6 separate regions of the Homo sapiens genome follow, and all the other regions are linked to region 4. The links are contacts of gene promoters, found by promoter capture Hi-C in blood cells and fetal thymus (Javierre and others, 2016). All regions are on one chromosome and are shown on one strand. Each heading gives the region's core, a stretch centred on a gene start or on the middle of the fragment in contact. The rest is flanking DNA. Distances are from core to core; before and after follow the strand shown.

Region 1 (3,413 bases), core at 660-3,159, 130 kb after region 4:
TTCTTAAAGACCTTGTTGGCTTCCAGCCTTCTCTCTTGAATCTGTTATTTCATATCTCCTTTTACCAAGAAACTTTCATTTAGTTTGTTACTTGACAGCAGGGTTTTTCAACCTCAGCACTGTTGACATTTTGCACCAGAAATCTGTATTATATTAACAATCAGTCCAGACCATGCCTAGTGTACTAAAGACTGAAAAGCACTGCTCAGGTATTCAAAAGCCCCTCTCTGGCTTGAGACAAAGCACTGGAGAGTACTACATATGTATACAGTAGTACGACTATATCCCTGGAGGTGGCTTTCTAGCTATGGAGCTCTGGTACCCCACCAGCCCTCGGCAGGCCAGGAGCCCTACGTGCTCGCTCACGGCCAGCACAACCTCAGGCGCTCTGTCTACTAAGTTTCGCCTTCTCGTGTGTGGCCCCATGGGTCCTAGTGAACTCCCTCTGGCCCCAGCACCTGTACAGCTGCCTCTCCTGGACAGCCCAGCTTGTGCCCCTACTGGCGCCCACCTTGGGAGTTGCCTGCACAAGCAGAAGACCACCTTGTATACGCTGTGGGGGCTTCTACCTACCTGCCACCCCCGCCTCGCCCTCACCCTGACTGCCTCACCAACTAATTGTAATTTCATTTTATCTCAGACTACAGGTATGTTTATGAACCATGCACATTCTTTCTTGGAAAAAGAATAGGTCTGTATAAATGCACACTTAGACCATACAATCTGATGAGAAAGTTATTTTAGAAAGATGAAACTTTTTTTTTTGAGACAGTCTTGCTCTGTCTCCCAGGCTGAAGTGCAGTGGCGCAATCTCGACTCACTGCAACCTCCGCCTCCCAGATCCAAGCGATTCTCCTGCCTCAGCCTCCCGAGTAGCTGGAATTACAGACACCCGTCATCAGGCCTGGCTCATTTTTGTATTTTTGTAGAGATGGGGTTTCACCATGTTGGCCAGGCTGGTCTTGAACTCCTGACCTCGGGTGATCCTCCTGCCTCGGCCTCCCCAAAGTGCTGGGGTTACAGGCATGTCCCGCCGCGCCCGGCCTGAAAGACGAAACTTTTTAAAGCTTTCCTAAGTGTATTGAGAACAAAAAGAACAGCCAACACTCATCATTCAACATGCTCAGAGCAGTCATCTTTAACCCAACCTTAAAATTCTTGGCTTCTCTCTTTTTCTCCTTGTCATTATAAAAAATGAAAATAAGATGGTTACACAGGGAAAGAAGTGGGCTGAACCTGACTAAGCTCAGGCTCCAATTCTAATAAAAACCCAGACGCCGGGACTAGAGTCTTCACAATGGAACCAAGTGTGTAACAACCACTGGGATCACCTACACGGGGCCAGCTGCGAGTCCAGGTGACACCCCAGCTAGGGAATGTATTCACACCCCCAACAGTTACACAACACTCAAATTAAGATGCAGCTTTTGGCCATTAGTGACTATCAACTTACCTCTACAGCTGTGGCCAAATTTAAAAGATTATGGCTGCCCATTAAGAGATTATATAAATTCCATCATGCTTGAGCAGGTTGCTTGCTAATCCCCAGGCTGTTCCCACTCACATCTTTCCACTTTGGCAGCTCTGGGACCAAGCAGCTCTATACTTGCCTATCTAAGCAGCTGCCCTCAAATCCTGGCCACCAGAGCTTAAACCTGGCAAGAGACCCCTTGTCCAGGATTTCATCCTAGCAGATCCAAAAGAGACAGCTCGCTAATGTGAGAAGGGAGCCGGTCAGTCTCTGTGTGTTGGTTTCTGCCCTCTGGGGACAGGGCCTCCCTTACTTGCTGTCTAATCCTCTCCTGACCAGAATGGCAAGGCCTTCAGGAGACAGTCTGGGACAAAGACGGCTGTTCTGCCAAATTCCCACCCCTCTCAGTTGGGCCCTCGTGGGCTCTTGACCCCTCTAGCCATCAGAATACTTACATGGGTATGGAACCTTAAACCACGGGGCTACCAGAAGCACGCCTTGCCTGGCATCTGTGCGAGCATAGAAGCCATACTTTGTGCTGTCGGGAGGGAAGACATCTGTCACCGTGAAGATGAAGCAGAGCAGCCAGGATACCAGGATGGCCAGGATGATCTGGAGTGGTCAAGGGGAAGCTCTGTCAGGCCAGCAGGGCTCACAGGTGTTGGCAAAAAACACGTCTTCCCGCGGTCGGAATATCACACCCCAGAGCCCACCACAGTCAGTACTTTGCAGACCTTCCTTGAATGGACTCTCACTGAGAGAGCAGTTTCATTCAGGTGAACTTATCTTACCCATTCCAAAGTCTGGCTGGTAAAACAAGAATGGACATCGTGCCTGCAGAGGCCACGTGGAGTCAAATCTTACTCAGTCCCAAGGACAGTGTCCCCTTCCTTCGGCACTGCTAAAAGGATGTGCTCCCATTTCAGAATCAGAATGTTTAAGTCTATGATGATCTGAGTGGTCATTAGTAGCCTGGTCTCACTGCACAGATATGATCCCCCAAGGAGGGCCTGCTTAAAACCCTCCCTTCACTTAATCATCTTACATATTAACCAAGGGCAAAAATGTCAGCAGGGGAAGAAGTCAGCTACTCACAGGGAACATTTTGAACAGCTGTAACTTGTACGCAGTCCATCCTTTCTTGGATTTATAAATCGGGAGAGGAAATTTAACATTTCTGGCGTATTGAGAAAACAGTAATACTAGGAATATTGTCCTGAGGAGAGAAAGAAAACAAACTAGGTCAAAAGCTGTTATGTCTCTGTTATAAAATAACACTCGAAGCTTCTATGGCAAAATTGACATAGTGTTCAATTCATTTACCTAGAAAGCTGCTAGTCCTCTGAACTACCATTTGAGAAATAGTATATCTATTGGAATGTACATCTTTTGGAAATACTACTGTGGGGGAAGATGTTACAACTAATTTGCCTAGCATTTCTTGATACTGAAATGAAATTCTGATGTAAATGCCTTAGGACAGCTTTTCCTAAATAGAATAAGAAAACCCAAAGAATGTACACATTGATGGGAAACGCTTACTCTATGTAAAGGGAAAGGATGCCAGATACAACATAAACTGTAAGATTATAACTATGAATTAACTACAAAGCAAACCAAGAAACTACTGCACGTACACACAAACAGGTAAGAAGGACATGATCCAAAATTCTCCCAGGGATTCGCTTTGAGTAGTTACATGATTTGCAACTGGTTTTCCCACTTTTCTGTATTTTCCAATCTACTTACAGCACGCATAAATTACTTTTAAAAGAGCAAAAAGTAAGCTTCACTGCTCAAGAAAAGTAGATACAGTAGAATTCAGTATTAATAACATTCCTGGGAGGCTTCTGTGTGCCAGACATTACACTAATGTCTTCCTGTGCAGCATCTCAACCTTACGGGGTGGCTTCTAAGATGGTCTCCTTTTCACAGAGACAAA
Region 2 (3,600 bases), core at 56-2,555, 160 kb before region 4:
TTCTAAGAGCAATGAGAAACCTCTGAGGCATTTAGACAAGTGAATTGATGTGATTAGGGTTGGTTTTCAAAGGTCACTTCTGCTGCTTTGTGGAGAACCTATTGGGAAGAAGTGATGCTGGATGTAGGGATGATGATTACGGAGCTAGCACAGTGATCCAGGCAAGAGATGAAGGAGCTGAGCTGGGTGGTTGCTTAGAGATGGGGAAAAGTGGACAGATTTAAGAGATGGAAGAGGTTGATGGAACTTGGTGATGGCTTGACTATGAATCAGATGGGAAGGGATGGTAATTAATTGAACATCTCAACCAAAAATGATGAAGTTCCCTTAAAGCTTCCATCCTTAGGCTAGGCAGGGTGGAAAAACAAGAAGTAATAGACACAGTCTGACATTCAGAGAGGTAATGATTCAGTCATAAAGGTAGAATGCATGAAATATCTGAAAACCTGCTGCTGGCTTCACGAAAGTGTGTTCTGGGTGGATAGAACATGAAATAGGAGATCCTCCCAGTCAGAGATACGAGTATTCCACCTAATGCTCTGTGATGATGATGACGGTGATGATGCCGATGATGACAATAACAATGACAATAATGATACAAAAGTTAATGTTCACCAAATGGTTTCGATATGACAGGTGTGGTGCTAGTGAAGAATGTGGACTCCATCCTTAGGGAACAGGGAAATGTGTCGTGTGTTAAGAAATATGGCCATCATCCTTAGCAAACTAATACAGGAACAGAAAATCAAATATTGCATGTTCTCCCTTATAAGTTTGGGAGCTAAATGATGGGAACACATGGAGACATAGAGGGAAACAACACACACTGGGGCCTATCGGAGGGCGGTGGGTGGAGGGTAGAAGGAGGAAGAAGATCAAGAAAAATCAGTAATGGGTACTAGGGCTTAATACCTGTGGGATGAGATAATCTGTACAAAACAACCCCATGACACAAGTTTACCTATGTAACAAACCTGCATTTGTACTCCTTACCTTAAAATAAAAGTTAATTTTTTTTTTTTGAGACAGAGTCTGGCTCTGTTGCCCAGGCTGGAGTGCAGCAGCCTGATCTTGGCTCACTGCAACCTCCACCTAACGGGTTCAAGAGATTCTCCTGCCTCAGCCTCCCGAGTAGCTGGGATTACAGGTGCCCGCTGCCATGCCCAGCTGATTTTTGTATTTTTACTAGAGATGAAGTTTCACCATGTTGGCCGGGCTGGTCTCAAACTCCTGACCTCAAGAGATCCACCTGCCTTGGCCTCTCAAAGTGCTGGGATTACAGGCGTGAGCCACCATGCCTGGCCAAAAAATTTTAATTTAATTCAAAAAAAGAAATTAGTGATTTGATCAGATTTGCACTCTGGGTTTCTATGTAGACAAGAGATCAGAGGGTCCAAGTTAAAAAACAAAGAGGAGTAGACCAGTTGAGAGGCTGCTGCAATCATTCAGATATAGGATGGAGCTCTGTAGCAGATGTGGTCAGTAACCTGCTCATGCCCACCGGCTCTCACTGTTGCTGTATATACCCAGGGCATCTCACTGTCTGAGGGCTTTCTCTGACTGTTGAACCATGCTAGGGTTATGTGCGGGGCAGACCAGAAGTCTTAAGGAGTTAATAGCCCCAGGCATGACCCTCAACAAGAGAGGGGCAGAGATGATAAATACTCCAGGTTCCTCATCTCTCAGGTGGGCACCACCAAGTTCCCAGCATGACTGAGCCTCAGCTGCCCACTAATCTGCTCCTTAGTCATCCTGTAGGGCTGCCTTCCCTTCCCTGTCTCACTTCCCCACTCCCCCACCAGAAACTTCTAAGATCATCTCCCAAATAAACTACTTATACTCAGATTCTTATCTCAGGGTTTGCTTATAGGAGATCCCAACCTAAGATAAGTCCTTGACCAGGTGGCAGTGGGGCTACAGAGAAGCCTCCAATGTAAGACATATCAGAGGTTGGTGATGTTTCTTATGGGAAGCCATGAGACAGCTGGGACTATGGTTTCTTGTACTTTCAACCAGCGAAGGGGCCACCCAAGATCCACAAGAGATCTAGGTTGATGGACACTCAAGGAAAATGAGCCTGGTTTGTTACCAAGACACCCTAGTCCCAAATTCCATTGTGGAGTCCCCAGCCCTTGTAAATTAGGCTAGATCATAGCAGCCACAGGAACTCATCTTGTTTCTTTACTCAAACACACACACTAAAGGCATAGTGGTTGTTGTAGTAGTTATTTAGTTCTGAGTAACATATTACTGCAAACTTAGTGGCTTAAAACAACAGTAAGCTTTATTATTTTCACAGTTTCTGTGACTCAGAATTCTGAAGCAACTTAGATGGGTGGTTCTGTCTCAGGGTATTTTATGAGGTTACATCAGATTTCAGCTGGGGCTGACTCATCTGAAGGCTCAACTGGAGGGTCCATTTCCAAGGTGGCTCACTCACTGGATGGCAAGTTGGTGCTGACTCTTGCTGGAGAGCCTCAGCCCCTCTCTATGTGGACTCCTCCCAGGGATACTTGAGTGCCCTTACGACATGGCAGCTGGCTTACCTCCGAATGAGTGATGAGAGAGAGCTAGGTTGAAACTATCCTTTTGATGACCTAGCCACAGGAGTCACATAGCAGCATTTCCATCACATTCCATAGTTAGAGGCCAGTCACTAAAACAAGCTCACTTTCAAGGGAAAGATAATTAGTTTACGCCTTTTGAAGGGAAGATTGTCAAAGAATTTGGGGGCATACTTTAAGATCACCACAGTTGCCTAATTGATCCATTTCCCTAGATTCTCACCCTAATCTTGAACGTGATGATCTTTCCAATCCTATGACAAGAAAGAAGCTGGAAGCCGAGGCAGGGGGATTGCTCGAGCCTGGGAGCTCGAGGCTGCAGTGAACTATGATGGCATGACTGCACTCCAGCCTGGGTGACAGAGCAAGATCCCATGTTAAAAGAAGAAGTGGAGAAGGAAGGAAGGAAGGAAGGAAGGAAGGAAGGAAGGAAGGAAGGAGAGAGAGAAAAGAAAAGAGAAAAAAGAAGAGAAGAGAAGGAAGCTGGCTGGAAAAGATGAACACAGGGAAATGAGTGTCGAAGTGAAGACAGAAGTTCCTCTTTGAACCAAGAACAGATCTGGTCCAAACTGCCCCTCCCTGGCTTTCTGAGGCACTTCTTACCACACCTTAGAGCCCAAGAGATCATGTTTGTGAGGCCCTCCATGGCAAGCAGCAAGAATGGAATCTTCATAATTCAGAAAGAAAATGAGTGTATTGGAAAGTTGCAGGGATGTTAACAAAATCAAAGAGAAAGATTCTTTTTTCTTCTTCTCTCTGCTTATCTGTTTTCTCAATAGTGAACTTACATTCCTGTTACAAGAAAAAAACAATAAAAATGTTTTTAAAGAAGGACTCTGAAATTATTAGGTTAAAATAGAAACTCGAATTATATGGTGCTGTCAAGAGACAAACTAAAACAAAACCCATTTTTAACTTTGAAAAGTTAAAAATAAATATTTAAAAAAAGTCAAGATTTATCAGGCAAACGCAAAATGGCAAGAATAACAAAATTAGTTTCAGACTACATAGAATTCAAGGCATTAAAAGGGAACAA
Region 3 (3,441 bases), core at 876-3,375, 160 kb after region 4:
CACAGACACGCACCCTCCTCCAGGCCACAGCTCTGCATTTTGGGTCCCTGAGCCATCCCAGTAGGGTGTCAAATCCCTCTCCTGTTCTTACTCCGCTCAAACTGCTTCCCAGGCCAGCAGGGAGGTGAACCACGCTGACCCAGGTAGTTCTGTTTAGGTCTTGTGCCCCAACAGTGGGCAAGATGATGCCCTCTGTGACCAAAAGTATTTACCCCAAGTTCCCCCAGGCCCTCCCTTCTGTGTCCCATTAGCAACTTTGCCCATCAGGCTCAGCTGCTGGCCAGGCCTGGCCTCCTTGGCATGAGCTGGGGCAGAGCTGCACACGGTACACACTTCACTGCAATAAACACAGCTTTCATCCCCTATTCAGGTCAACCAATAATGCTCAGCTAGAGACACTGACCAAATTCACAGAGGGATTATGCCTACAAATCCACGGATAAGTCAGCGGTTTAGAAAAAGAACATCTCCCCAGAGAACCAGTGCTCCATGGGCAAGGTAAGGATCCTGAGTGAGCCAAAAAAAGCTCTGCCGTGCACTCTGGACTTGAAGCACAGAGCCCTGAACACTGTACCCAAAGAATGAAAGAGGGTGCTAGTCAGGTTGAGCCCTTCTTGGAAGGCCCAGACCACATCTCCTTCCCCTAGTCGGTCAGTGATATCCCTGCCCTGCCCCCTGGGGGGTTTGAGGAGACCCTCCTCCCTTCAGCCCAGCTTGGTGGTTGTGGGCAGACTAGCAAGGGCTGGGATCTGGGAACCATCAGAGCTTGCCAGCCCCAAAGCCTTTAGTCCACATAGCTTCTTTCCATCAGCAGACCTGCAGCCTACCCTCCCAGGGTGTGGCCTATCCTGGCAACCAGAACACCTGCACATGGCTCACCGCCCTCCAAGGCTCCCCTATCCCCGTGCCGCGTTAGGGCAACCCTGAGGTCCCGAAGGATTCTGACTCATCAGAATGCAGTCCCTGACTTCAGCTCACACCCACCTCCCACCGCAGGGAGGGCCAGGCCTTACTCAGCCTGTCTCTGACAGAGCAAGAGACAGCTGGCCGTGAACTTAGGACAGTCCTGCCAGAGCAGGCTCCACTTCCTGAGCAGTGCCCTGGGGTAAAGCAAGAGGCTGCACTGCGAAGAGGGGAGAGGAGCAGGAAAGGAGAGGAAAAGACAAGCTTGCAGGAGGAGGTAGGAAGGTAGATAAGGATGTTTCTCTTCCTTCCTGTGCCAGCTCCACGTCCATTTAAGCTGGTGGCTGGAAATGCAGAAGTGAACAAGCCAAAGCCCTGGCATCAAGGAGGAAGCACCGTGGGAAAAAGACATAGAAACAAAAAGGACAAACTGGAATAAAGGCCACACTGGAAGGATGAAAACAAGGTGGGAATTCAGAGAACAATGAAGGGCTCCACAGAGTCGGGAGGGCAGGACAAGCTGGGCCTGGAGGATGAGCTGTTGTGTGCCAGGCGGGTTGAGGGAAGACACACAAGAAGGTAGACAGCGGGCCCTTGGGAGTGAGGCCAGGGAAGGCAGGAGACAGGGCTCAGAGGCATGGCTGGAGATGGAAGTGGGGCAGAGAGCAAGGGCAAGCCTAAATGCTGGGTGCAGCCTGGTGTGTAAAAAGGGAGGAGAGCTGCAGTGTGGCTCACCCTGAGGAGGGTGTGGAAGTAGAAAGATGGCACTGGGTGTGGGGCACAAAGTGAGTCCAAGAGCAGTGCCCTGGAGGCAGGGAAGCCAACGGGGAGCCTGGTGGGACACTCTGGTCTGAACGTAAGGAATAGGGGCACAGAGGGGTGCTGGGGAGCGAGCATGACTTGCCAAGGGGGCAGGGGAAGGAGAGTGAGGCTGAGTTTCCAGCTTGGACAACTGGGTAGGGGAAGGTGGCGGTGGTGCCATTCACCAAGAGAGGAAATGACTGGGAGGAACACTGAGGGGTGGGGACCAACGGCCACTAGGACATTCCCGTGCCTCCATTCTGTCCTTGCCAACAGCCCTAGGCAAACGGCGCAGCTCAATGCCTTCTGCGCTCAATGCCTTCTGGGGGCTTTGGCATCCCCCATTAGTACCCCAATCTCACCTGCATCCAAACGTTGTCTGTAGCAAAGTAGTGATTCCCACACAGAAGAAAATGGTCCCAATGAGCTGGCTGGTGGCCCACTGGTCGTACCCCACACACATGGCATCGGCCAACAGGAAGGGCACTGCGATCGTGCCGCTGAAGCATGTCAGGTAGTGCTGTGGGCAGGAAAAGGGTCAGAGGAGAAACAGTAAACCCTTCCTCATTTATTCTTGATTTCATCCTAATTCTTCTCTCTTATTGTCGTTAAAAAATAGCCCACATAAAGAATCTCCTTGGTTTTTCGACCAAGCCATACTTTTTTCCTTCTTTTTCAGTATTTCTCCTTTGTTGTTAAGACAGTTTCACTCCCATTGCCCTCGACGGAGTGCAATGGTGCGATCTTGGCTCACTGTGACCTCCACCTCCCAGGCTCAAGCAATTCTCCTGCTTCAACCTCCCAAATAGCTGGGATTACAGGGGCGCACCACCACGCCCAGCTTATTTTTGTATTTTTTGTAGCGATGGGTTTTCACCGTGTTGGCAAAGCTGGTGTCAAACACCTGGGCTCAAGCGATCCGCCTGCCTCTCCCTCTCCAAAGTGCTGGGATTACAGGCGTGAGCCACCACGCCCAGCTGCATTTCTCCTTTTCATTACATTTTATTGTCTTACTATTCACTGTCATTATTACTTATTACTTGGATGAATCCATGCCTCACAAAGGAAACAGTCAATATCAGCACTGGTGATATTTTACTTATGTAATTCTTATTAGAAATATTTGGGTTTCTTCCCCAAAATGCTTTTCTGGCATAAATTGCTAAAACCATAAGGCCTTTCTCCTCTAATCTGTTATCATGAATTGTGATGTGCTGAACTATTCTTGCATGCTTGAAACAAACCCTAGTTAGTCATACTGTATTTTTCTTCTGGGATTTGATTTGCTAATATTTTATACAGAATTTTGCATCTACATTTCTAGGTTAATTAGTCTATTTCTTTAAAAAAGTTCTTTCATGTCTGGGGATTAAAGTTACATAAGCTTCATAAGTTACATACGCATGGAGTGTTTTCTGTCTTTTTCTGTGAGCTGGCATTGTTTTCGAAAACAAAGAATTCGTCTGTTCCAGTCAGGGCAGGGTTAAGGGCGTACAGTAGCCATGGGAATCTTCCAGAAAGAACCCCATCCCACTTTCCTTTGGGAGTCCCCCCAACCCCCCGCCACACCTGTAGCCCTGGTAGGATAGTCCCAGCACTCACGACTCACTTCCCTCCCTTCCCCTGTTGACCAGTTCTTATTTCTGTTCTGCAAACTTCCTACTTTTCTTCCAGCAGCTTCCCATTCCTGCCCACGTTAGCCAAACATGCCACATGCAGCCCATGAAGCCCGACTGT
Region 4 (3,396 bases), core at 209-2,708:
AGTACTGACCTGCAATGCGATTCCTACATCAGCAAAGGTCTTCCTTCCATCGTTAGAGGACTCCTGGATTTGCTATGCCTATCCTGATGGCTTCCTACATGAGACCATCCATTCACACTTGGCCCTTACCCAGGCCTGAAATTCTCCCCAGTTGCACTCCACCCACTTATGTCTATCACTTAGCTCAAAGCCAGTAAAGCTCATCTCTGAACTAGCAAAGATTCCCTTTATCCCATCAAAATGTCCTTAACATCTATCTTGAGGTCATGCAGCATGATCTTACTTTGCTGGCATTCTTTCCTTCTTCTGTGGATTCCCAAGCAGAGTACAGATGTACAGATTCCTTGGGGGATAAGAGCTGGAATTTCAGCTTCTTTTTTTTTTTTTTTTTTTTGAGACGGAGTCTCGTCTGTTGCCAGGCTGGAGTGCGGTGGTGCAATCTCTGCTCACTGCAACCTCCGACTCCCTGGTTCAAGCTATTCTCCTGCCTCAGCCTCCCAGGCAGCTGAATTACAGGCACACACCACCACGCCCAGCTAATTTTTGTATTTTTAGTAGAGACAGGGTTTCACCATGTTGGCCAGGACGGTCTCGATCTCCTGACCTCATGATTTACCTGCCTTGGCCTCCCAAAGTGCTGGGATTACAGGCATGAGCCACCGCACCCGGCCTCACCTTCTTTTATATCCCACACAGCACCCAGCACAGAGCACAAAGCTAAGCGCATCGATCCAGCGACTGACTGACTGAATAAATGAATACATGCTATCTTGCTTGTAGAAGCCCAGATTCCTCCTTCTTACGACTCCCACACCCACTTAGGAGATTCTATTATGTCTTAAAAGAAGTTACATCTCCATTAGTGTCAAAGCAACATTATATAAGTGGCTCAACATGATCAGGCATGAATTTCTTTGTTTTCCCACTCACCTGAAAGCCCAAAAACAATCCAGGTGGTGGTAAACACTTCTGATCCTTCAAAGAAAACGGAAGAAAGCGATCCCTACCGTCTATTTTGAATCTACCGTTTTTTGTTTTTGAGTGTCTTTTAAATCTATTCAAAATCCTTTAAGGGCATTTCACCATGCATGGGAGAAGGTCATGGATCCTCAACAAATTGCAAGAGGCCTTTCACAGGCTAGACTCTGCCTTGTTCTCCAAGCTCACCTTCCATAATCCTGATGTGCTCCATATTGCCAGACTCTTTCAAGTCCTTCCCCGCCCTGCGGAGAATCCCTACTCACACCTCAGGACCAGCTCAGACATGGTCTCCAGGAGACCTTTTCTAAGATCCTATGTGAGGTAACTAGCCCCCTTGGCACCTTGTGACATAATTATTCACTTCCATGTACATGTCCCGTAGTGAACTATGAGCACCTCCAGACCTTACCCTGCGTTTGGTCGCCTTGCTCTCCTCTCTGCAGCTGGCACCCAATCTTTCCAGGCTGTCTCTAGGGACTCGAGCCCTTGGGATGGGGTCCTCAATGCTTTTCCACCTGCCTGGCTTCTAAATTCCACTAAGATCCTGTCCCATTCTCTTGGAAACACTAGAACTTACTCTGACATGCCCTATGGAAGTTATTTCTCCACTGCTGTTCAAACCCACTCCCAGACCTGGCCTTCCCTGAGGAGAGCGTCTCAGCCAAATCCAACTGCCTCTAGCTCAAGTTTCCTTGCGGGGGGCCCGCTGGCCTCATCCTGTTAGGTCGTCTTAGAGCCACAGGAGAATCAATGTTCCAGTGTCAGCAGGAAGAATCAATGTTCCAGTGTCAGCCAGCAGGGGGCAGTGTGAAAATACACACACCAGGCCCTTTTTTCAAAGGGTCTCGGCTTCCCTGAGGGTGTCTATCTGTGCCTCTATGAAGCATGGCTTGGGTCATTCCTCCAGTCCCATGGCCAGGTGGATCCTTCGTTTACCTTTCATTTCTATTAAATGAGAACATTCTCAATTCACTAACTGGATTGTTGGAAAGGCAGCAAGCTCTGCTAGATAGTTCTAAATATTTGCATCAAATATGGACCAGAAATTGTGAATCTGTCTTTCAACGCCCTCGGATCTGAGTCAGCAAGGCTGCCACGTGCAAAAGTAGGAACGTTAAATACTTGAAGCTGGGAGAGAATAAGTGGGTTTCTAATCCTCTCTGGTGCATTCAGTTCTAGAAAGTGGTTCTTTGTATTCTACTGGAACATTTCTATGTATGGTTTTTTTGTTGTTTGTTTGTTTGTTTTTTGAGACAGAGTCTCCCTCTGTTGCTCAGGCTGGAGCACAGTGGCACAATTTCAGCTCACCACAACCTCTGTCTCCCGGGTTCAAGGAATTCTCCTGCCTGAGCCTCCCGAGTAGCTGAGATTACAGGCACGTGCCACCACGCCCAGCTAATTTTTGTATTTTTGGTAGAGGCAGGGTTTCACTATGTTGGCCAGGCTGGTGTATGTATGTTTTAAACATGCTTTAAAACAAAATTTCTTTTTAGAGATGGGATCTTGCTATGTTGCCCAGGCTGGAGTGCAGTGGCTATTCACAGGTGTGATCATGGCGCACTGAAGCCTAGAACTACTAGGCTCAAGCAATCCTCCCACCCTAGCCTCCCACGTAATTGAGACTACAGGTATACACCACCATGCCCGGCCTTAAACATGCTTTTAAATGTGTCATAAATCACATTTCTCTGATGAATAAAAAGAATTATCTAATGTTGAGAAAGAGTCAGTGTTTAATCATTTACCTCACAGTGCAGATTTCTTAATAAATTCTGTTATTGAATCTACAGAATTTAACATTATGTTATTTTTGGCCCTGAAGGCATAACTTCAAGCCATTCTGGATACTGAATGTGTTGCTGACATACACATTAGCAAATCACTCAGAAGCATATACACTTTATTGCATTATCAGTAACATGAAGAAATATTTCTATATCATGAGAAAGAGCACTTTCTTCTTGATATGTGTGTAATCCCTTGGTCTTGGGAAGCTAAGGCACAGCTTACAGAGGGATTTTGTATACCCCACTCATTACGTAGCTTAAATCAGGCTGGGTAAACATGTAAACCAAATGCAAATCATCAATCTACATATGTTTAAGAAATAATATAGACATACTGCTGAAGCATGCCTCCCAGGGAGTTCTGGACTTTAAACAGCATCTTATAAATCACCAGCAAGAACAATCAATTAATATTTTGGCTGAGGGTCTTTACCAGACTCCCAAATACCACTGGAGTTAAGCACTGAACCAACACAGGCCAGCTGCAAATAAGATTCATTGCTATGGTTTGGATATTTGGCCTCCCCTCCAAAGACAATATCATGTTGAAATTTCATCCCCAATGTCAGAGGTAGGGCCCACTGGGAGGTTTGGGTCATGGGAGTATATCTCTCATGAATGGCTTGCT
Region 5 (3,395 bases), core at 493-2,992, 230 kb after region 4:
CATTTGCTTATGCACCAAGGTCCAAGTTCAAAGCCGTATGAGAAGTCCCCGTTAGTGGAGTCAAGACCTAGCTGGAGAAAAGCAAATGGTAAATTAAAAGTAATAACAAACCTAGCAGGAGGTACTCTGCATGAATGGAGTCTATTTTTCACCCAGCCATGCCCAATCCTAGAATTTGCTCTATTACTACTTCATTTTTATGGACTGCCTCCAAGGCCCCAGCCTGTCTCTAGGCAGGGTCACAAACTGCACCCTCAATTCTTTAAAAATCCACTCTCCATTTCTACAAAGTATTTTGAAAGATAGTATTTTAGAACACCTATAAAAAAACTTTTCAGCCAGGCACAGTGGCTCACACCTGTAACCCCAGCACTTTGGTAGGTCAAGGCAGGCAGGTCACTTAAGCCCAGGAGTTCGAGACCAGCCTGAGCAATAGGGTGGTCTCTACAAAACACACACACACACACACACACACACACACACACAAATTAGCCAAGTGTGGTGGTGCACACCTGTGATCCCAGCTACTCAGGAGACTGAGAGGTGGAGAATCACCTGAGCCCAGGAGGTTGAGGTTGCAGTGAGCTGTGCAACCGCACTCCAGCTTGGATGACAGAGTGAGACTCTGTCTCAAAAATAAATAAATAAATAAAAAGCAATTTTGGGCCAGGCACGGTGGTTCACACCTGTAGGGAGGCTGGGATGGGAGGATCACTTGAGGCCAGGAGTTCAAGACCAGCCTGGGCAACATAGTGAAACCTTGTCTCTACAAAAAAAAAAAAAAAAAAATTATCTCGTCGTGGTGGCACACACCTGTAGTCACAGCTACTCAGGAGGCTGAGGCAGGAGGATTCCTTGAGCCCAGGAGGTCAAGGCTGCAGTGAGCCATGACTGTGCCACTGCAGTCCTACTTGGGCAACAGAGCAACACGCCATCTCAAAACAAAAGCAAAAAAAGTGATTTGCACTCAGTTGGGATTTCTCCATTGATAACTTTTAAACTCCATATTCCCTAGCACAGGGTCTTTGATTTAAAAAAAATAAATAAATAAGTCACTTTCTGTTAAAGCCTCTTAAAAATGTACTAGCACACGGGGAGGGTGCTTCTCAAAAAGCCGGTCACATTCTGTTTCTCAAACTGGGATATGAGCAGGTACACAGATGTTTCTTTTACTATTTATTAAACGGCTATGTTTTATCCACTCTTGTACCTATGCATATGTTCCACAATAAAGGGAACCCAGAGCCTGACTCAGTGGCTGTCTTGGGAACAGCCATCCCAGCCCCAGCCATGAGCCTGGCCCTCCCTTGTGAAGAAAAACGTGCAAGGCAACCAACAGTTTAGCCAGATTTTCACTGGAAAATCCTTATGTTGAGACATCAACTTTTACCATTTGTTCTTGGGCAAGTTAGCATCAACAATCGCCAACGGCCCCAAGTTAAATAGCACACAAATGCCATCAGACTGGTACCAGTCCAGCCTTCAAGGAACCATTAATGAGTCTTTTTTTTTTTTTTAATTTTGGAAACTAAACACTGGTCTTGTGCTATTTGGGAAAAAATACTCACTTTAAATTATTAGAACGTGAATGAAGAAATTGATGTCTTTCCCTTTCTAAAACATTTTGCATGCAAGGAAAAAAAAAGTAGTAATTTATTTCTCAAAATAAAATCTCTACACATAAATCTATCTTAAGCTATGTGGGGGTTTTTGGGGGGTTTTTTGGGGTTTTTTTGTTGTTGTTGTTGTTTTAAATGAGACAGAGTCTCGCTCTATCAGCCAGGCTGGAGTGCCGTGGCGCAATCTTGGCTCACTACAACCTCCACTCCCGGGTTCAAGCGATTCTCTTGCCTCAGCCTCCCGAGCAGCTGGGATTACAGGTGCCCGCCACCATGCCTGGCTAATTTTTTGTATTTTTAGTAGAGACACGGTTTCACCATGCTGGCCAGGCTGGTCTTGAACTCGACCTTAGGTGATCCACCCGCCTCGGCTCCCAAAGTGCTGGGATTACAGGCACAAGCCACTATGCCAAGCCTTAAGCTATGTTTATCAGAAATTTGCAATGTCAGAAGGGAGGCACAAAGGTGACATCCATCAATGTCTAGTCAAGAGGAATAATGAAAAGAACATGAGAAAAGAAAACAAGAGAGACACTTTAAAAGAATGGCTTACTTTCAGTTAAGTTATAATAACAAATACAGTTCCTTGAAAAATACAGGTTGTACAATATGTGTGGTTATGATTTCACTTTTATTAAAAGGATAATTACATAGTATGCATTTGTGTACACAGAACAGGGCTGGCAAGGATACAGATCAAACTGCTTTGAAGTGGTGGGGGGACATAAGAAAAGATCGTGTGACCTTCTCAATTTACTAAACACAAGTCTGACAAGCTAGAATTATTTTTCAACATGTGTATGCTTCTTTTGCAAATCCTTTAAAAAACTATTAATTAAAAACGGCTCCATGAGGGCAAAGTGCAAATTAACAGAATGTCATTTTTAGCTACAAATCATTGGAAAATTCTGAATGGGGAAGCGAAAGTACTATGACTCCTTAAAGACATGTTTTTGGAGAGTATTTTTCTAAGCTGAGTGGCAAGATGGCTGGAAGGACTTAACTACTGCACAGAACAAGTACTGAGACCAAACCACAGAACTGGGTCAGAGGTTTTAATACTGGGAACATGCAAATACATTTTTGAGAAAGGAATCTCTGAGGAAGGAGTTAAGAAGGAATCACGATACAAACAAAAACAAGACTGAGCTATCAGTAAGCAACCTTGAACTTCTGGCAGAGCGCTCCGCTGAATGCCCCTCCCATTCGTGGGTTCCACCGCACTCTGGAAACATGAAAACTGTCCTTTGCACGCAAGGCTACGGGGCTGAGATCAAAGCCTGGGCGCTGCGGCAGGTCAGAGGAAACATCACTTGGGACACACTCATGGCCACATGACTTTCCCCCATCAAGGCCCGCTGAACTCTCAAGAATCTGTTCACAGTGCTTCTGTTGCTTCTTAATTAGGATGTGCAAAAGTACATACTACATGCTGTGGTTTCCAGACACTGACTTCATACAGAAAACATTCAACAAAAAACTGGGGAAGAAATACTACAGAATTGCCATCTGTGTATCTTACTATGTTATTTAACATCTACCACTGACTCAACATCATTTCCTTAAAAAGGGATGTTAACTCTTCAAAAGCAGGAAGGAGAGAATGCCAGGGCCAGTATCATAACAGGCCAGAACCTTTGAACAGCCAAATCATTCTATCAATTCAGTAGATGCCAAAAAGGCTGACAAAACACTTCCTCCTGATTTAAAAAGCAAAAACCAGCCAGGCGCGGTGGTTTATGCCTGTAATCCCAGCACTTTGGGAGGCTGAGGTGG
Region 6 (3,435 bases), core at 351-2,850, 180 kb after region 4:
AAGATGCAGCAGCCGATAGATCTAACATGACACTAGCGACCTTGAATCTGGCTGATGCCGCAAAGCCTCTAATTTTGCTTTCACTGCCTCTTCCCACAGGATGGCTCCTGTAACTCCCCAGTGCAGGTGATGCTGCTGGATGGCTCAGCCTCCACCACTCGCCTGGCCCAGCCTGGTCTTCTTAGGGCTGCCTTCTCCAGAAGGCTAAGGCTGTGGCAGCCAGAAGCACCCCGGGGATTCCAGCTGCATCTCACCTGTCCCCCAGTAGGGCGACAAGAGGAGCCAGAAGGAGCCTTACCTCTCCCCATGCCGGCCCACAGCAGAGCTCGGGCGGGTGATGTGTCTGCCAAGGTCCACACTGAAACACTCTGCAGTGTGTGCTCCTCCCACACCCCAGGCAGGTGGTGCTGGTGACTGCTACTGTCTGCCTGGCACATATTCATGCCTGGCACTAGGTTGGGCACTTCAAACATCTTCCCTGCTAGGTGAGGTTTCTAAGAGATGTCCCTGGGGATCCTGTCCCCAGATGGATTCAAGAACAGATCCTGAGGCCACGCAGCACATTACAGCACTCCACCCAAAACGGACCGTCCTCTCCCATTCTTTCCAGGTGCTAACACATTACAGATAACAAACCCATGTCTCTAAAATGTAAATATGGAAGGGACACAAACCCAACAAGAAAAGGGCTAACATCCCAACAGGAAAATAACTAAGGAAATAAACATGCTTCTTGAACAGTAAAAAGATGCTCAACCTTACTCATAAGAAGATATACATTAAAACTATGATGAGAGGCCGGGTGCGGTGGCTCACGCCTGTAATCCCAGCACTCTGGGAGGCCAAGACGGGTGGATCACTTGAGGTCAGGAGTTCGAGACCAGCCTGGCCAACATGGTGAAACCCCATCTCCACTAAAAATACAAAAGTTAGCTGGGCATGGAGGCTCGCGCCTGTAATCCTAGCTACTTGGGAGACTGAGGCAGGAGAATTGCTTGAACCTGGGAGGCAGAGGTTGCAATGAGCCGAGAACATGACACTGCACTCCAGCCTGGGCAACAGAACGAGACTCCACCAAACTATAATGAGAAACCTCTTTCTACCTACTAATCGGGACAAGAGCCCAGTCTGACCACATATTCTGCTGCCAAGCATGCAAGAAAACAGGCATTTACACATTGCTGACGAAATTCCTCAACAGAGGGCAATTTGGTGAGTAGCCCCCTCAGCTTACCAAGGCACATCCCCTCTGACTCAAAAATCTCACTCTTGGAAATCTATCCTTCAATTACACCTGAGTGAAACAACTTATGTGCCAGGTTATTCAGGGTAGTGCTATTTGTAATAGCAAAACATTAGAAACAGTCTAGATGTCTATCTGCAGTAATTAAATAAATTATGGTGTATCTATACCATGGATCACTTTGCAGTTATAAAAAACAATGAAGATAATCCTTATACACTGACACAGGTATACAGAACATCATCTGTATATCAGAAAGTGAAAAGAGCAAGAACGGAGCTACAGACACAGATCTGTAGATACAGACACTTCCTTCTACAACAAAAACTGCTCCCCCTAAACAGAGACAGAGTAAACATCCCCCTATCCTAGGGCTATCAGTAATGACAGGCACAGATCTGGCTGGTGGTGCGGCTGGTTCTCCCTCTATTCCCTCAAAGTGCTATCAGATCCAGGGATCTTCTCTGTAATTGTTCTGTATGATGCAGTATCTTTGATCACCAGTATTACTCCGCAGGAATAAAGGGGCTAGGGAGAAGAATAGGCACAATGAAAGAATATAAATGGCCAAGGAATGCTGGCAGAAGTGTTTGGCTTCACTGAAACTCAAAATTAAAGCAATCAGATACAATAAGGTCAATATAAACTAGGCTGTTATTTATTATAGCAAAGCATTAGAAACAATCCAAAGTCCCAATGCAAGTGGAAAAGTTAGATCCATGATTTGCTATATGTCACAATTACAAGTTCTGTTTCTAATAACATTGAGATGCCACGATATGATACAAAGTTAAAGTCTTCATAAAGCAGATTGTGTGTTGATGAGAATTTTATAAAAGAACACTCAAATACTTGTCTTAAATCTCTGGAAAGAAATACATCAAGGCTGGGCACAGTGGCTCATGCCTGTAATCTCAGCACTTTGGGAGACCAATCACTTGAGCTCAGAAATTCGAGACCAGCCTAGGCAACATGGCAAAACCCCATTCCTACTAAAAACAACAATAACAACTAGCTGGGCGTGGTGGTGCATGCCTGTAGTCCCAGCTACCCAAGAGGCTGAAGTGGGAGGATCACTTGAGCCCAGGAGGTCAAGGCTGCAGGAAGCTATGATCATGTCACTGCACTCCAGCCTGGGTGACAGAGTGAGACCCTGTCTCAAACAACAATCACAACCAAAAAAAAAAAAAAAAGAAATACACCCAAAATATCAGTAAAATATTTTCTGTTACTACCAAAATAACAGAAAGTGGTGTTTTTCTGGCTAGTGAGATTTTAAATTATTTGTTTTCCTCATTTTACCATTCTGCATTTTCTGCAGTGAACTTATTTCTCTTGTAAATGAAGAAAGTTACACAAATAATGAAAAAGGGACAGAAAATACACATATGAGAACTACAAAAAAGAGGCAGAAGAACATATCAGCATTCTTGCTTCTTCCATTTCACCCCAACAATGTAGTTTGTACCGTAAAACCTAGGGAGAACTATGGATGCTTAAAAACATCCATTTTAAGGGCAATTTAAGAGGGTGGGGAATGTGACAACTGAGTGATTACTGCCTCGAAACCTCCAATATCATATCTTCCTCCTCAAGTACTTTATCAAATCCTAGCAAGAATGAACTTTTTCTCCAATAGAATTATGGGCTTAGATTATGGTAAAGAAATCAATCTGAAATATTTTATCTCTAATCATTAAAACTAAGAAGCCTGCCTACCTAGCTTAGGCAAATAAAAGTTAGTGGGGGTGGGGATTAGGAATTTAGAAGTGGGGATTCACCTAGAAGAAAGGAAATCTGAAGTAGTCCTGGAAGTGCAAAAGGCACAGGCAGGAATAGCAATCAGGGGTCAGAAGAGACCAAGGCTGTGGGGCAGGGAGATCACACAGAGGTTGTCACGATGATCCCAGGAAGAACTGATGCTGACCCACAGAAAGCGGAGACAGCAGGATGAAGGCAGGGGGATCACATGGGGTAGGAAAGGAAGGAAGCTTGTCAACTACTTCTGATGCATTCCTGTCACAGCATTTAGCAAGAGCAGAACAAACAAGAGGTCCTCTAAGGCCTTTTCCATGACCAAGATTCCATAAACCTGACCTCACAGAAATTAAGAGGTGAGAGGCCGGGCACAGTGGCTCACGCCTTTATCCCAGCACTTTGGGAGGCCGAGGCAGGAGGATCACTTGAGGTCA

Evidence for each region. The method cuts DNA at HindIII sites, captures the fragments that hold promoters and counts their contacts. A CHiCAGO score of 5 or more calls a contact.
Region 1: a contact is called between a fragment that was not itself captured here and the fragment with the promoter of PRNT in region 4, in 1 of 17 cell types (M0 macrophages). The highest score is 5.1, in M0 macrophages.
Region 2: a fragment that was not itself captured here is called in contact with the fragment with the promoter of PRNT in region 4 in 2 of 17 cell types (activated CD4 T cells and M1 macrophages); the score reaches 5.6 in activated CD4 T cells.
Region 3: a contact is called between a fragment that was not itself captured here and the fragment with the promoter of PRNT in region 4, in 3 of 17 cell types (megakaryocytes, M1 macrophages and M0 macrophages). The highest score is 7.1, in megakaryocytes.
Region 5: a contact is called between a fragment that was not itself captured here and the fragment with the promoter of PRNT in region 4, in 4 of 17 cell types (total B cells, megakaryocytes, naive CD4 T cells and 1 more). The highest score is 7.3, in total B cells.
Region 6: a contact is called between a fragment that was not itself captured here and the fragment with the promoter of PRNT in region 4, in 2 of 17 cell types (megakaryocytes and naive CD4 T cells). The highest score is 6.4, in megakaryocytes.

Annotation. Positions count from the first base shown.
Region 1 is chr20:4,872,010-4,875,422 of GRCh38, forward strand. SLC23A2 (solute carrier family 23 member 2) reads right to left here. Exons shown (of 17, transcript NM_005116.6): 10 at 2,567-2,687; 11 at 1,927-2,083. Among named protein-coding and RNA genes, the nearest start is that of RASSF2, 50 kb to the left of the region's middle. The HindIII fragment of the contact is 1,688 bases long and covers 1,066-2,753 here.
Region 2 is chr20:4,582,973-4,586,572 of GRCh38, forward strand. No RefSeq gene overlaps it. Among named protein-coding and RNA genes, the nearest start is that of PRNP, 100 kb to the right of the region's middle. The HindIII fragment of the contact is 1,949 bases long and covers 332-2,280 here.
Region 3 is chr20:4,897,489-4,900,929 of GRCh38, forward strand. SLC23A2 (solute carrier family 23 member 2) reads right to left here. Exons shown (of 17, transcript NM_005116.6): 6 at 2,067-2,224. Among named protein-coding and RNA genes, the nearest start is that of RASSF2, 76 kb to the left of the region's middle. The HindIII fragment of the contact is 1,921 bases long and covers 1,166-3,086 here.
Region 4 is chr20:4,739,210-4,742,605 of GRCh38, forward strand. It overlaps PRNT (prion locus lncRNA, testis expressed), which reads right to left and starts at 1,459. Exons shown (of 2, transcript NR_024269.1): 1 at 1,391-1,459. The HindIII fragment of the contact is 12,166 bases long and covers 1-3,396 here.
Region 5 is chr20:4,970,849-4,974,243 of GRCh38, forward strand. It overlaps SLC23A2 (solute carrier family 23 member 2), which reads right to left. Exons shown (of 17, transcript NM_005116.6): 2 at 1-71. Among named protein-coding and RNA genes, the nearest start is that of SLC23A2, 29 kb to the right of the region's middle. RefSeq lists enhancers at 2,274-3,395, 2,729-3,038 and a silencer at 2,461-2,661. The HindIII fragment of the contact is 5,275 bases long and covers 1-3,395 here.
Region 6 is chr20:4,919,183-4,922,617 of GRCh38, forward strand. The region is part of intron 3 of SLC23A2 (solute carrier family 23 member 2); the gene reads right to left. Among named protein-coding and RNA genes, the nearest start is that of SLC23A2, 81 kb to the right of the region's middle. The HindIII fragment of the contact is 3,263 bases long and covers 1-3,232 here.